5 separate regions of the Homo sapiens genome follow, and regions 2, 3, 4 and 5 are each linked to region 1. Evidence: promoter capture Hi-C in 16 types of primary human blood cells and fetal thymus (Javierre and others, 2016). All regions are on one chromosome and are shown on one strand. Each heading gives the region's core, a stretch centred on a gene start or on the middle of the fragment in contact. The rest is flanking DNA. Distances are from core to core; before and after follow the strand shown. Region 1 holds the start of EBP (EBP cholestenol delta-isomerase). Region 2 overlaps UXT (ubiquitously expressed prefoldin like chaperone). Region 3 holds the start of ZNF81 (zinc finger protein 81). Region 4 holds the start of SYP-AS1 (SYP antisense RNA 1). Region 5 holds the start of PRAF2 (PRA1 domain family member 2).

Region 1 (2,521 bases), core at 1-2,500:
TACTCCTTGACCCCCTCCATCCTTGACCCCCAACACCTCAACACACACACACACACACACACACAAAATCACACCATTTTCATGCCTGTCAATCCCCACCCCACCACAAGGCAGGAAGGGGGTGGTGCCTGCTGGGGCCTAGAGGGGGATGCTTGGGGAAACAGAGAAGGGGAGATCCAGGGCCTCCCCGCCTTCCTTCTTCCTTTTTATATACAATTTGTTATTGTCAAATAAAAGTAGGAAATATTCAATAGGCTTCTTCTTCACTGCTCAGAGGGGAATAGGAATGAGTGAGGAAGGGAGCACAGCATGGATAAAGGTTTGGAAGCTGGAAACCATGAAGAGAGAGCAGACTGTGATTGGTTCATGGTTAGTTTATGATTGATTAGATGATGAGCCTGAAGATGGCAGGATCCTGGTCCTGCTTGGTTTGATCAGGGCAGGGACAGATTGCATAGTTGGATGTGGGGGAGGCCTGATTGGCTGGAAAACTGAAGGATCCCCATTCTGATTGGTTGCTCTGAGTGGGACACAGAGGAGAGAAAGCAAGAGAGATGAAGGGTTGGTGCCTATTTATCCTTAGGACTGAGGGTTGTGGGTTCTAATTGGATGGGAGGTCTGGGATGGGTCTGGATTCTGATTGATTGCTCCATCTGGGGGCCCACTGGTGGTTAGGCGTTTGATTGGCTTTTTAGAACTGGCATATGGAGATTGAGGGTCTTCATGCCAATTGGTCAGTAGGACTGAGAGGCCTGGGTTCTAACTAGTTCTTCTGACTTGAGGTCGGGAGAAGAGAGAATGACCGCTGCTATTAGGACTGAGGAGTTCTGAGCACTGAAGAGCTGGGGAGGGGGTGGTTGCAGTGTATAGCGTGTGATCTGCTTGTAACAGTTTCGTTGCATTATACTAAGGGTTACTCTACCTAGAAAAGGGCGGAGGTGAAAGGATGCAACGCAACGCTAATTTCACCAGCGGAAGAAGCGGGTACAGACCTTAATGAGTCCCCGTTTTGATCGACTGATAAGGGAATGGGGAAATTGAAGCCAGGACTCGATGCAGATTGGCTACGGATCCAAAACGCCCACTAACCTTGGCGCGTCCCAGTCTCCACCCCAAACCTAACTCAGGTGAAAATGGCGCCACGCGCGGGGGCGGGGCTAGAGGTACAAAGAGAGTGTCTATTGGTTGGGAGCGGCACGGGCCGCCTTCTTCGCTTCACCATTGGCTCGCTCCGTAAGGCAAGAGAACCCACTAGGGGATGAGCCCGAACTAGGGATGTGACAGAGCGCGAGACCCAGCCTAAAGAGAGCCCGGAGCCAGCGTGGGAGGCCGCTGCCGTCGCGCGCCTTGGTGAGTGCCCTCCACCCGGCCCCTGCTCCCTCCCCCAGCTCTCCCCGGCTACGCGGCCAGCCCTCGGCGTGCCAGCGCGAGACCCTTTGCCACCCGCCCCCCCCACCGCCCTTTTGCGCCTGCGCGAGACCCCCAGCTACCGCACGGTTGTCCAGAGGACAGAAGATCCGTCTTCTCATTGGGCAGCGGGACTGGAGGGTTCTGGTTCGGATTGACCGGCTTTGTGTTCCGTTCTAGCGCTGCACGCCAGACACCGGCCTTTCAATATCCGTCTCTTCCCTGCAGGTTGACGGCGTTGCACGCTCTCGCGGGGAGGCTCTGGCTTTCCAAACGCTGGCACCGAGGGTTGTAGTTCTGATTCGTTTTCTTTCCTCTGTCCCCCAGTTGCAGTTTTCAGGACTACGTGGGGGAGGGAATAGCTTTTTGTTGAACGGTTTAAGACGCTGACCTGTGCAACTGGACCACGCCTGGTTCCTGTGTCTCTTACCAAACCGTGACCCCGGAGCACAGGACTGGGTTTGGTGGTCGTGAGCAGTTTGTGACCCTTGAAGGAAGACACCAGGCCTGGTCCTGTATCTCCCTCGCCAGACTGTGACCAGGGAGGGCTGGGATCAGGTGTTGTTCCCATGTGCCTCCCACCAGACTTTGACCCCCGAGGGCTGAGACCGGGACTGTTTCTACCACATCATAATATGGCTTCTAAAGGGCTGGAACAAGCTTTCAGCCTTTCTGTGGCCTTGTGTTTCAGTCATGTTCTTTTTCTTTTCTTTTTTATTTTATTTTGAGACAGAGTCTCGCTCTGTTGCCCAGGCTGGAGTGCAGTGGCATGACCCCGGCTCACTGCAGCCTCTGCCTCCCAGGTTCAAGCGATTCTCCTGCCTCAGCCTCCTGAGTAGCTGTAACTACAGGCGCACGCCACCACACCTGGCTAATTTTTGTATTTTTAGTAGAGACGGGGTTTTGCCATGTTGGCCGGGCTGGTCTTGAACTCCTGAGCTCAAGTGGTCCACTCGTCTTGGCCTCCCAAAGTGCTGGGATTACAGGCGTGAGCCACCGCGCCCGGCCTTCTTTTTTAGAGGCAGAGTCTCAGACTGGAGGGCAGTGATGTGGTCACTGCTCACTTCAGCCTTGAAGTCCTGGGCTCAAAGCGATCCTCCTGCCTCAGCCTACC
Region 2 (2,521 bases), core at 8-2,507, 870 kb before region 1:
TTATTGTTTGTCTCCCCTGACTAGAATGTCAGCTGTATGAGGGCAGATTTTGTTTTTTTTTGTTTCCTGCTCTATCCCCAGGGACCAGAACAGTGTGTGGCACAGAGGAGGCACCCAACGTATGTTGAATGAATAAGTGACTACTCCATTAAAAGGAACCTGAGGTTGGCTGAGTGTATGTTTAGGGACAGGAAATAAATGAAGTATGGGTGTTGTTGCCAGAGAGCAAGAATACTTTCAAGAATATTCTGGGGGTAATGCTTAAAGAACAGAAGAATGAACCTGATCAGCTCCTAAGGGACAATTTTAACATCAAAAAAGAGAACAAAATTAGTTAATGGTGTAAGCTTACCTTATGAAAACCTATGAGTTCAACACTTTAAAAGGGAGAAAAATACAGAGTTCACCAAATGCTAGCTGTAACACAAAAGGGATATGTTTATTACTGCTGATTTATTTTTATTTGCTATGTGAGAAGCAAATTACTACTGATTTAGTATGTAAGGCAGTGTGAATAGTCATATGGTTATGCTTTTTTTTTTTTTTTTGAGATGGAGTCTCACTGTGTCGCCCAGGCTGGAGTGCAGTGGCGTGATCTCGGCTCACTGCAACCTCCACCCTCCGAGTTCAAGCGATTCTCCTGCCTCAGCCTCCTAAGTAGCTGGGATTACAGGCGCCTGCCACCGTTCCCGGCTAATTTTTTGTATTTTTAGTAGAGACGGGGTTTCACTATCTTGGACAGGCTGGTCTTGAACTCCTGACCTCGTGATCCACCCACCTCGGCCTCCCAAAGTGCTGGGATTACAGGTGTGAGCCACCGCGCCCGGCCGTTAGGCTGTTTCTTCTATAATTACATGTCTATTCATGAGATGTGGATGTGTACTCCTTTCTGTGTCATCAGGAAAGAATATAGAGATTTCATCCCTTCCACTTCCCAAACAAAGAAATATACTAAGAACAGGAAGAACTGACACTTTTGATCACATAAAATGACCAGAAAGTTAGTTCAAAGTATATCCCAAGTAACCAAATATTTTTAAAGGACAGCCAGCTACATAGACTCAAATCTTCATCTCTTAGAAAAATTAAACTTCTAGACAGTCCTACTAATTACAATAAAGCAGTAAGACTCAACCATATTTTTCATCACACTAACAGACCAGGTCAGTACATCAAAAAGACCAGGCAAGGGGGCAGGCACTGACAATTTAAATACTTCATTTTGGGGAAGTACGTGGAGTCTCAAAACATTAAAATCTATTTGATAGGCTCAGGAATCCTGTGACATAACAAGGAAAGCCTTCTTATACAAACTAGACTTTAGCTGGGCGCGGTAGCTCACACCTGCAATCCCAGCACTTAGGGAGGCTGAGGTGGGCAGATCATCTGAGGTCGGAGTTTGAGACCAGCCTGGCCAACATGGCAAAACCCTGTCTCTACTAAAAATACAAAAATTAGTCGGGAGTGGTGGTGGGTGCCTGTAGTCCCAGCTACTTGGGAGGCTGAGGCAGGAGAATCCCTTAAGCCCAGGAGGCAGAGGTTGCAGTGAGCCAAGATCGCACCACTGCACTCCAGCCTGGGCGACAAGAGCAAAATTCCGTCTCAAAAACAAAGTGGACTTGGTCTAAATGACCACCAGTTCAGAATTGTGTTGACCATGAAAGCAGGCCGTTTAATTAAACTATTTGCTAATTGGTCTGAACACCAAGAATCAGAAATCTCAGCAGGTCTGAGGTTCTTTTGGGTCCACTAGCACCTGCTAGTCCTTCCCATGGCTGGAAAGGTTTGAAAAGATAAAAATTACTGAAACTCTAAGGGAGGCAACTCTGGAAAAAATGAATGTAGAACAGACATAAACACAAAACACAACCAACAAAGAAGTTTAAATCAATGGTACTCACACTTGTGAGATGTTGTTAATCTAAGTGTATTGCTCAGTGCCCCCATGCTCATTCCATTGAAACCAAGCTCACCTCTCTTGGTAGTTTCACTAGCATACCAGGCACACTATTCCTCTTGCCAGGAATGCTCTTCGCCAGATAGCCCCATGGCTTTGTCACTCAGTCAAATGATTCAAATGTCCCTTCCTCTGGGAGGCCTTCCCTAGCTACATTTCAAATCCCTCATCTATGCTCCCAACTGCCCTTCCCTGCACAAAACCGTAAATCAAGCTTGTCCAACCTGCAACCAGTGGGCCACATGCGGTCCAGGACGGCTTTGAATGCAGCCCAACACAAATTCATAAACTTTCTTAAAACATTATGTGATTTTTTTTTGCAACTTTTTTATTTTAGCTCATCAGCTATCATTAGCATTAGTGTATTTTATGTATGGCCCAAGACAAATCTCCCAATGTGGCCCACGGAAACCAAAAGATTGGACACTCCTGCCTTAAACTCAACTGGAGCCCACATTTTCTCTCCCCATCACCCCCAACACAGATCTGCTTCAATAACCACTTTAATATGCTTCCAGCATACCCTTTCAAATTATTTCAACAAACACAAAGCCGGGTACAGCA
Region 3 (2,521 bases), core at 14-2,513, 680 kb before region 1:
CTAGGACACCTCTAACCTTCGAGATTGTTAAACCGAGGGCCAGAGGGGATAAGACTGGATTGAGAGCCCCCAGCAAGTCCACACTTCAGCCTACACCAGGTCCTCTCAAAATATTTTTTTCACCTGAGGATTCAGAAAGGCTTTCAGGAGGGCACACAGGCTTCTAGCTCTGTCAGGATTCTCTGGAGGAGGAGATATTTGAACTTGATTTTGAAGGATGAATAGGCATTCTTAGGTGAAGGACTGCACGACTTCTTCCCCTTCTGCTCCAGTGACATCTCCCAGAGGGCAGGGGCATCTCCAGAATTTACACATTGGAGGTGATATGGAGCAGCAAACTGGTTGAAGGGTAGAAGCAGAGCCTTGTATTAAAGCTACATTTCCAAAGTAAGGGCACCATGACCACATATATTTTACTTCATGAGGAAATAAAAATAATAAAGTTTCCTAAAGATTTTTATTGACATATTGCATTGGACTAAGGACACATTAAAAATTATTAGTATTGGTACTACGTAGTCCCTTTTTAGCTGGGGTAGATGGAGTGGGAGATAAGGTAAATTGCTGCAGCATTCAAACCTCGCATCCAAGCCCCACAGGCACAGCAGGAGGGGAACCCAGCACTCTGAGTTCTCCCTTTTTCCCACCTCATGGCATATCCTAGGAGGGCTTGCATAACCATGATTTCTCCTCCTCCTCCTCCCCTTGTGGTATGTCCTAGGAGAAGCCTGTAACCAGCCTGACATCTCCCCGCTTCTCATCCTGTGGTATCTGCCAGGAGATAGCCGCGGCCGCCCCTGATTCTTTCCAAGAGGCCCTTCAGTTTCTCGGAGCGGTATCACACAGATCCATAGACTACAGGTCCAAAGACCCCCTCCTCCAGTTAGCCCGCCCAGAGAAACGTCCCCACCCGTGCTCCCTGCCACCAGCGGGACAGCTCCACCTGAGTTTAGAGCAGACAGCTCTAAACTCACAGCCTGCTCTGTGAGTTCAGAGGTGTCCTCATCCTCAATACGGATGGACACTCCTCCAACATGGTGTATCCCATGGGGAAGCGCGACGTGGGCGCGGCCATGTTCCCCACCTGACCACGCCGCCGAGGGGTACCGAACGTCCCAAAGCACCCACTTCCGTAACTTCTCCATGTTGACTCCTGGCTAACAGCAGCTTCAAAGGTGGTTTTGCGCACGCGCGGAACCTCCGCTTCCCTCATTCATGTGAAGTCCCAAACCCCGAAAAAGGGCGGTGCTAGGGGTAGTGACCGGAAGCGGCTGCGGTTCTCGCCGGTTCTCAGCCGGGGTTTGATAGTTGTCAGGAGGATTCGACGTTCAGTGCCCAGGGATGTGGAGGTGATGGGGGGCCGGGGAGGGTGAGTGCTGGGCGATTCTGTGTGGCCAGTGATGGAATCGTTTATCTAACTTGAGTTGGATGATTCACTCATCATTTTGCAGGCTTTTCTCTTTTCTAACATCACCGTTAAGGTCTTAAAGTTCATTCTAAGCCCCATTGGGTTTGGAGCATTATGTTTTTTAAGAGTGTTAACTTGTATTCATTTGTCTTTTACCCGGGAGTTATTCAAAAGTGGGGTTTCAGTGTGCAAAAGTTTATCTCTGTAATGGATCTCTAACCTTAGTTTTCTGTGTTAGAAAAATATCTACGTGAAGCTCATTCCTTGAAATATAAGGAGACTTATGGCCTAGTCCGTGGTGAATTTTTAGAAACGTTCTATATATAACTTGAAAATAATATTTAATTATTTAGTCGTCAATTGTGTCATAGAAAATCTATCCTTTTTTGTCTGCTTCTTCTATTACTTCGAGGAGAGAGAAATTCTCCACTGTGATGGTGATTTGTCTGTGTCTCCTTACTGCTGTCTGTGATCCTCTGTGAGTTACTTTTTGTATAAAGTATGAGACTTAGGTCGAGGTGCATTAATTTGCTTATGGATGTCCAGACTGAAGCACCATTTGTTGAAAAGACTATCTTTCCTCCATTGACTTGTCTTTCACCATTGTCAAAAATAAGTTGGCCATACTTGTGTGTGGGCTCTTTCTGGGTTTGCTATTCAGTTCATTGTCTATGTGTCTATCCCTCTGCCAGTACTACCTTGCTGTCTTGAATTGGATAGAGTGATTCCTCTCACTTTATTCTTTTTCAAAATTGTTTTAATGCCTCTGGTTCCCTTGCCTTTCCTATATGCATTTTAGAAAATCTTGTCTCTATCTACAAAGCATCTTGCTTGGATTTTGATAGGAATTGCATTAAACCTGTATACCAACTCGGGAAGAAGTTAAGTCTTAACTGTGCCAAGTCTTCCAATCCATATACATAGTATGTCTCTCTATTTATTTAGATCTTTTAAAATTTCTATAAATGGTGTATTTTAATTTTCATCACCCAAGTTCTGTACATGTCTTATTCAATTTATACCTAAGTATTTAATTGTTTTGGAGTGGTCATAAATGGTGTTATCTTTTAAATTGTTGCTTATATATAGGAATACAATTGAGTTTTGTCTGTT
Region 4 (2,521 bases), core at 14-2,513, 680 kb after region 1:
GGCAGGTGCTCAGTGATCCCAGTGGATGTAGCCTCGAGGTGGGAGCTGGGCAGGAGCTACTTGCGGGGGGAGGTATTGGCCGGTTCCACCCTGCCCCTTCCTCTCCCAGGTCTGTTGGTATCCCAGGGTGGGAGCACACCTGAAGGGGTACTCGAACTCGACCTCGATGCTGAGGTCACTCTCGGTCTTGTTGGCACAATCCACGCTCAGCTGGAGCTCCCCACTGTAGCTGCCGCATGTGGCAAAGGCGAAGATGGCGAAGACCTTGGGCAGCAGGGATGGGGATGGCCACAGTGAACCTGTGTGCATGTGGGAGGGAGGTGCCCTCCTCTGGACAGATCGGGGGCCCAGCACAGGCAGCAGCAGATGGAGCAGTCCCCACCCCCACCCCCTAATCAGGGCTCATCGGGACCAAGGACAAGCTGATTACAAGGGTATGGCTGTCTCTTCCTGTTTCTCTCTCTGTGTCTCTCTCTGTCTCTGCCTTTCCATGCTGACCTCCCTCTTCTCTGTTTGTCTCTGTTGTTCTCTGTGTATCTCACTGTGTCTCTGTTTCTCTCGGTATCTCTGTTTCTCTATGTGTCTTTGTCTTTCTCAGATGTCTCTTTGTCTCTCTGTGTCTCTGATCCTCTCTGCCTCTGCCTATCTGATCTGTCGATGTCTCTTTTTGTCTCTTTTTTCTCTGTCTGTGTAAGTGTATGCCTGTATGTCTGTGTCTTTCTGTTTCTTGGTCTGTTTGTCTCTGTCTCTCTGTCCTGTCTCTCACTCGGTCTCCGGATGGTTCTCTCTCTGTCTCCCTCTTGCCTCTGTGTGTTGGTTTCTCTTTTTTCTGAGTGTCTCTTTCTCTCTGTGTCTCTCTCTCCCTCACCCTGTTTTCCTGCCTCTCTCCCTGCGTCTGTTTCTCTTTGCATCTGTTTTCTGTGTCTCCTTTTTCTTTGTTTCTGTTTGTCTCTTCTCTCTTATGTCTGTATCTCTTCTCATCTCCATATTTCTTTTTTTTTTCTCAGTATTTCCATCTCTGTCTTTATCATTCCCTGTCCCTCATTCTCTCTGTCACCTTCACTGTCTCTGGGTTTCTCTGACTTTGCATCTCTCACCCAGCATCTGCTACAGGCTCCACCTCCCCCACCCCTCCCTCACTTCAAGAGAGGAGGTAGGACGTCACAGTCTCCCACTTCACAACGGGGGTACCCTCAGCCCTATGTGACGTCACAGCTCATCTGTTTTCTGGCTTCAGACCCCTGAAACCTCACCCTGGAGCCCAATTCCCCCATCCCCTACAACCCCCGCACTCATCCCTGGCTACTCGCCCCTACTCCACCCCTGCTCTTCTGGACCCCATGACCTCCCTCTCTCCCTGCACTCTGCCCCAACAGCCCGGACCACACTCACCCATTGCAGCACCTTCACAAAGCCGAGGGGCTCCTTGACCACCCGGAACTGACCCCCAGCCACCAGCTGAGGAGAGAAACAGTGGGGAAGGGGTGGGGTTGTTGGAGGTACAGGGAGGTGAGCGGCAAGGCTGCCCATCAATGACCCCAGGGGATGGAGCATGTGACCTCGGGGAGAGGGTGAGAAGGAGAAAGTGACACCTTGGGGATGGTGTGAGCCCCAGGGTCCAAGGACTGGTGGGAAGGTCTGAAGAGATGGTGAGTCAGATGGCAGAGGAAGTCGGGGGTGAGGGAGATGGGGATGAGGTCAGGACTAGTTAAGGAGGGGGAGCAGGTTTGAAACGTAAAGGCGAGTCGGATGGGGAAGGGGTTCGGGTAGAGAATGGGGATGGAGTGGGGTGCATTCGGGTGGGGGGGTTGTGATGGTGAAGGTGAGTCATAACGGGGCAGGAGTCGGTTTGGCTCAGGTGGGGGAAGGGTCTGCAGGGGTAAAGGTGTGTTAGACGGCGGTGGCGGTAGATATTTGAGGTGATGGGGATGGGGAAGGGTTGGGACTGATTGGGGGTGAGTTTCTGAGGTGGCAAAGACGAGAGACATGGCGGAGAGGGTCTGGACTGATTAAGGTGGGGGAGGGCTGGGACACGGCTTCAGTCGCTATGTGTTGGGGGTGAGGAGGCTGGGGGTTTTGGAAGGAGTAAAACCGGATTGTCCCCTAGGTGTGCTCTGGGGGAAGGGGTGGTCGCCTATGGGGGTACAGTCTCTGTTTGGGAGGGGCGGGTGCCAGCCCTCTCCCCCATCCCCGCCCCCACACCTTCTGTCGCTCTATTTCCTAGCTTATCCGCAGCACCCCCCATCTTCCTTCCACTCTCCCCTCCCCTTGTCCCTTGCCCTCACTCCAGCCCCCAGGCCCCTATTCCTCCCCTCGCGGTCGCCAGTAATAAACGGGGCTCCGGGGGCCCCCGCTGCGGCAGTGAGGACGGCCCTCGCTGCGGCAAAGAGCGCACTCCTTTTCTCCACCTCCCCCTTCCTCCCCTTCACCTGCCGCAGACCCCCATCCCCAGCGCCGGGGACCGGGTCTCCGCTGCCAGACCCTGGCCACCACCTCCCAGAGTCGGCTGGCCTGAGCGACC
Region 5 (2,521 bases), core at 22-2,521, 550 kb after region 1:
CCAGGGTCTCCCGTCTCCGGACACTCCAGCCTGGCACATCCTCCCACCAGCCCTATCTCCAGCAGGCCCATCTGCCAGGGCTCCCGACTCACCCTTGTAGACCCCTCCTTTCCTCCTTGTCAATTCCACTGTCCTGTCTTCCTCAGGTCCCCGCTTCAGGCCCTCCCATCCTGCTAGACACTCCCCACACCCCCGGGCTCCCAACACTTCCCTGGACTTTCCTTCCGACTCTGCCCCCGTAGGGCCCCTCATCAGCCTGCCCGCAAGCTCCCCCTTTAACACCAGCCCCTGCAAATCCCTCTTTCAGGCCTTCTGTCTTCACACGTTCCCCTCTCCCCAGGCCTAGGGTCCTTATAGAACCGCCCTCCAGGCTCCCATTTCCCTATAGATTCCTCCCTCCATCATTGCTAGGACCTCTTCCAGGTCGTCAGCCCCACTCTGAACTTTCAGCACTGCTCAAGTCCTTCCTCCAGATTCTCCATCCCTCTCTGGTCTCAGGCTTTCCAACCATGGATCCTCCTCCTGGGCCCAAGTTCCCCAACAGGTACCTGCCCCTGGCGCCTTCCAATCATAGCCAGGCTCCCCTCCAAGACCGGATCCCCAATAAATACATCTTCCAAACCCTCCAACTTTACCGTCTATTTCCCGGTCTCTGCCCTAAGTACTCCAGGGTCGGCCTCAATCTGGCCCCATCATTCACATCACACCCCCCCTACGCCCCTCAAGTACTCTCATGTCCCCCTTTCGGGCCCTCCTTTTTTTCCGGTTCACCTTCCAGCCCACTTTCCCCTTCAGTCCCACACTTGTCTCCATCCTCCCCATATCTTCCTTGCAGACCCCCATCCCCCGCAGGCCCTCCTCATCAGCCAGGCTCCATCTCCCTGAGGCCCTCCTTATAACTAGGCTCCACCTCCTTCAAGGCCCCCCTTCCAAGCCCCTCAGGCCGTCCATCTCTACTGACTTCGCCCTTCCCGGCCTTGCACCCCCCTCAGGTTCCCCGTCCTGGTCCTCAAAGACCTGTGGGTCTACCCCCACGCTCTGCAGACGTCCCTGGCCAACCGGCGCCTCCCTCCCTCACCCGGCGAGAGCGAGGCCGATGCCGAAGCAGAGAAGGTAGTTGGTTTGGTAGTAGAGGAGGTTGTTGATGACGCGGTGGCACCATCGCTGCGGGTCGCATGGATCCGGAGCCGCCAGACGCGCCGACCCCAGAACAAAGTCGTCCAGGGCGCGTAGCGGTGGCAGCCGCACCTCCGACATCCTGCCGGTTAATGTGGCTGGACCAGCCAGGAGGGGGCCGGACTACAACAACCGTTACGCCCCTCGCCACCGCGGGGCACACCGGGAAATGGAGTCTGGGCTGGGCAGCTTTTTCCTAACCTCCTAGGTGGATTGCGCAGGGGCGGCGATGCACGTGACCGGAAAAGCAACTAACACGCCGCTCAGGAAAGCAGCAAAGGCTGCCGGGAAATCAAGCCTTTGCCACGAAGCGAGATGCTCCCAACCCTTAAAACTGCCATCCACCCCCGCGCGGGGCGCCGCAGGGGCTGCTCCGGGCGGTGCCAGCGGCTCAAGCACAAAGTAGCCAGACAGATAAGAAAGGAGGGACTGTCACAAGGATCCGAGTTGGATTCCACCTCCTTCCTGTCAGCGCCCAAGAGGGTCACATTTCTCCAGGAAACTCCATGCCCCGCCCCTGAGGTCAAGCCGTAAATGCCATTAAGGGCCTTTTATTCGTATTCATCACATCGGAGATCATCTCTTCCTAGGAAGCTTTTAAAAAATCCCCAGGTTGGATTAGGGCACTCCCTCTGGGTCCCTGGCAATTTCCTCCAGGTTAGGGATCCCAAGGGGTCGCTGCCTTCCTGGGTCTCTGGCCTGGCCCTTGGGGCACACAGTCATCAAGAAGTGCTGGGGGGAAGTGAGCTCTTTATTTAGACATAGCTCTGCTGAGTGGAAAGTGGGCACCAGCCCCATTAATGCTTGCTGGCTGGTGGCTTCCAAGCACGCCCCACTGCCAAGGCTCAGCTCTGCAGTTCTGCCACTGCAGGTCCCTAGCACAGCCCCCAGGGTCCTTAAAAGTCATCATCATCACAGATGTCAAGGTACACGTCGAAAGCCTCTCTGTTGCAGTTTCCATCAGGAGTGAAGACATATTTGTGGAAGGTCCCATCTACGCAGATGGCTGGGGGAGGGGGGGTGGTAAAAGGTCAGAGGCTGCCACAGCCACAGGCTCCAGTCCTCTCAGGCATCTCAGGACCTAGGGTCTGCCTCCAGGCCTTTGCCCAGTGCTGTCCCCCTTACTGATGATGAAGCTGAGCCTCACATGGCCCTAAAATCCTTTCAGGTCCAACCTGCAGGCCTTTGCCCCATGCAGTACCCCCAACCAAGGGGCTGTTCCCACTCACCAATGACAGAGTTGACGTTCTTGGAAGTATTGCGACCGAAGGCGCAGATGCAAGCTGACTCAGCAGGCACAGTGAAGCTCGCCAGGCTCCACTGAGAGTCCACGTACTGCCCAATC

Evidence for each region. The method cuts DNA at HindIII sites, captures the fragments that hold promoters and counts their contacts. A CHiCAGO score of 5 or more calls a contact.
Region 2: a fragment that was not itself captured here is called in contact with the fragment with the promoter of EBP in region 1 in 2 of 17 cell types (total B cells and total CD4 T cells); the score reaches 6.3 in total B cells.
Region 3: a contact is called between the fragment with the promoter of ZNF81 here and the fragment with the promoter of EBP in region 1, in 2 of 17 cell types (M0 macrophages and M1 macrophages). The highest score is 6.8, in M0 macrophages.
Region 4: the fragment with the promoter of SYP-AS1 here is called in contact with the fragment with the promoter of EBP in region 1 in 4 of 17 cell types (naive CD8 T cells, neutrophils, non-activated CD4 T cells and 1 more); the score reaches 9.6 in naive CD8 T cells.
Region 5: the fragment with the promoter of PRAF2 here is called in contact with the fragment with the promoter of EBP in region 1 in 2 of 17 cell types (activated CD4 T cells and total CD8 T cells); the score reaches 6.3 in activated CD4 T cells.

The regions. Positions count from the first base shown.
Region 1 is chrX:48,520,558-48,523,078 of GRCh38, forward strand. EBP (EBP cholestenol delta-isomerase) reads left to right here and starts at 1,251. Exons shown (of 5, transcript NM_006579.3): 1 at 1,251-1,350. It overlaps PORCN (porcupine O-acyltransferase), which reads left to right. Exons shown (of 15, transcript NM_203475.3): 15 at 1-251. RefSeq lists silencers at 92-151, 1,066-1,295, 1,356-1,535. The HindIII fragment of the contact is 9,622 bases long and covers 1-2,065 here.
Region 2 is chrX:47,653,677-47,656,197 of GRCh38, forward strand. The region is part of intron 5 of UXT (ubiquitously expressed prefoldin like chaperone); the gene reads right to left. Among named protein-coding and RNA genes, the nearest start is that of UXT-AS1, 3.9 kb to the right of the region's middle. The HindIII fragment of the contact is 1,824 bases long and covers 346-2,169 here.
Region 3 is chrX:47,835,639-47,838,159 of GRCh38, forward strand. It overlaps ZNF81 (zinc finger protein 81), which reads left to right and starts at 1,264. Exons shown (of 5, transcript NM_007137.5): 1 at 1,264-1,349. RefSeq lists an enhancer at 1,012-1,391. The HindIII fragment of the contact is 3,931 bases long and covers 1-2,521 here.
Region 4 is chrX:49,197,576-49,200,096 of GRCh38, forward strand. It overlaps SYP-AS1 (SYP antisense RNA 1), which reads left to right and starts at 1,264. Exons shown (of 2, transcript NR_046649.1): 1 at 1,264-1,649. SYP (synaptophysin) reads right to left here. Exons shown (of 7, transcript NM_003179.3): 2 at 1,393-1,458; 3 at 140-264. RefSeq lists a silencer at 2,451-2,500. The HindIII fragment of the contact is 12,908 bases long and covers 1-2,521 here.
Region 5 is chrX:49,072,731-49,075,251 of GRCh38, forward strand. It overlaps PRAF2 (PRA1 domain family member 2), which reads right to left and starts at 1,272. Exons shown (of 3, transcript NM_007213.3): 1 at 1,079-1,272. The coding sequence starts at 1,257. It overlaps WDR45 (WD repeat domain 45), which reads right to left. Exons shown (of 11, transcript NM_001029896.2): 10 at 2,406-2,521; 11 at 1,712-2,182. The coding sequence ends at 2,073. RefSeq lists a silencer at 1,455-1,554. The HindIII fragment of the contact is 3,027 bases long and covers 1-1,768 here.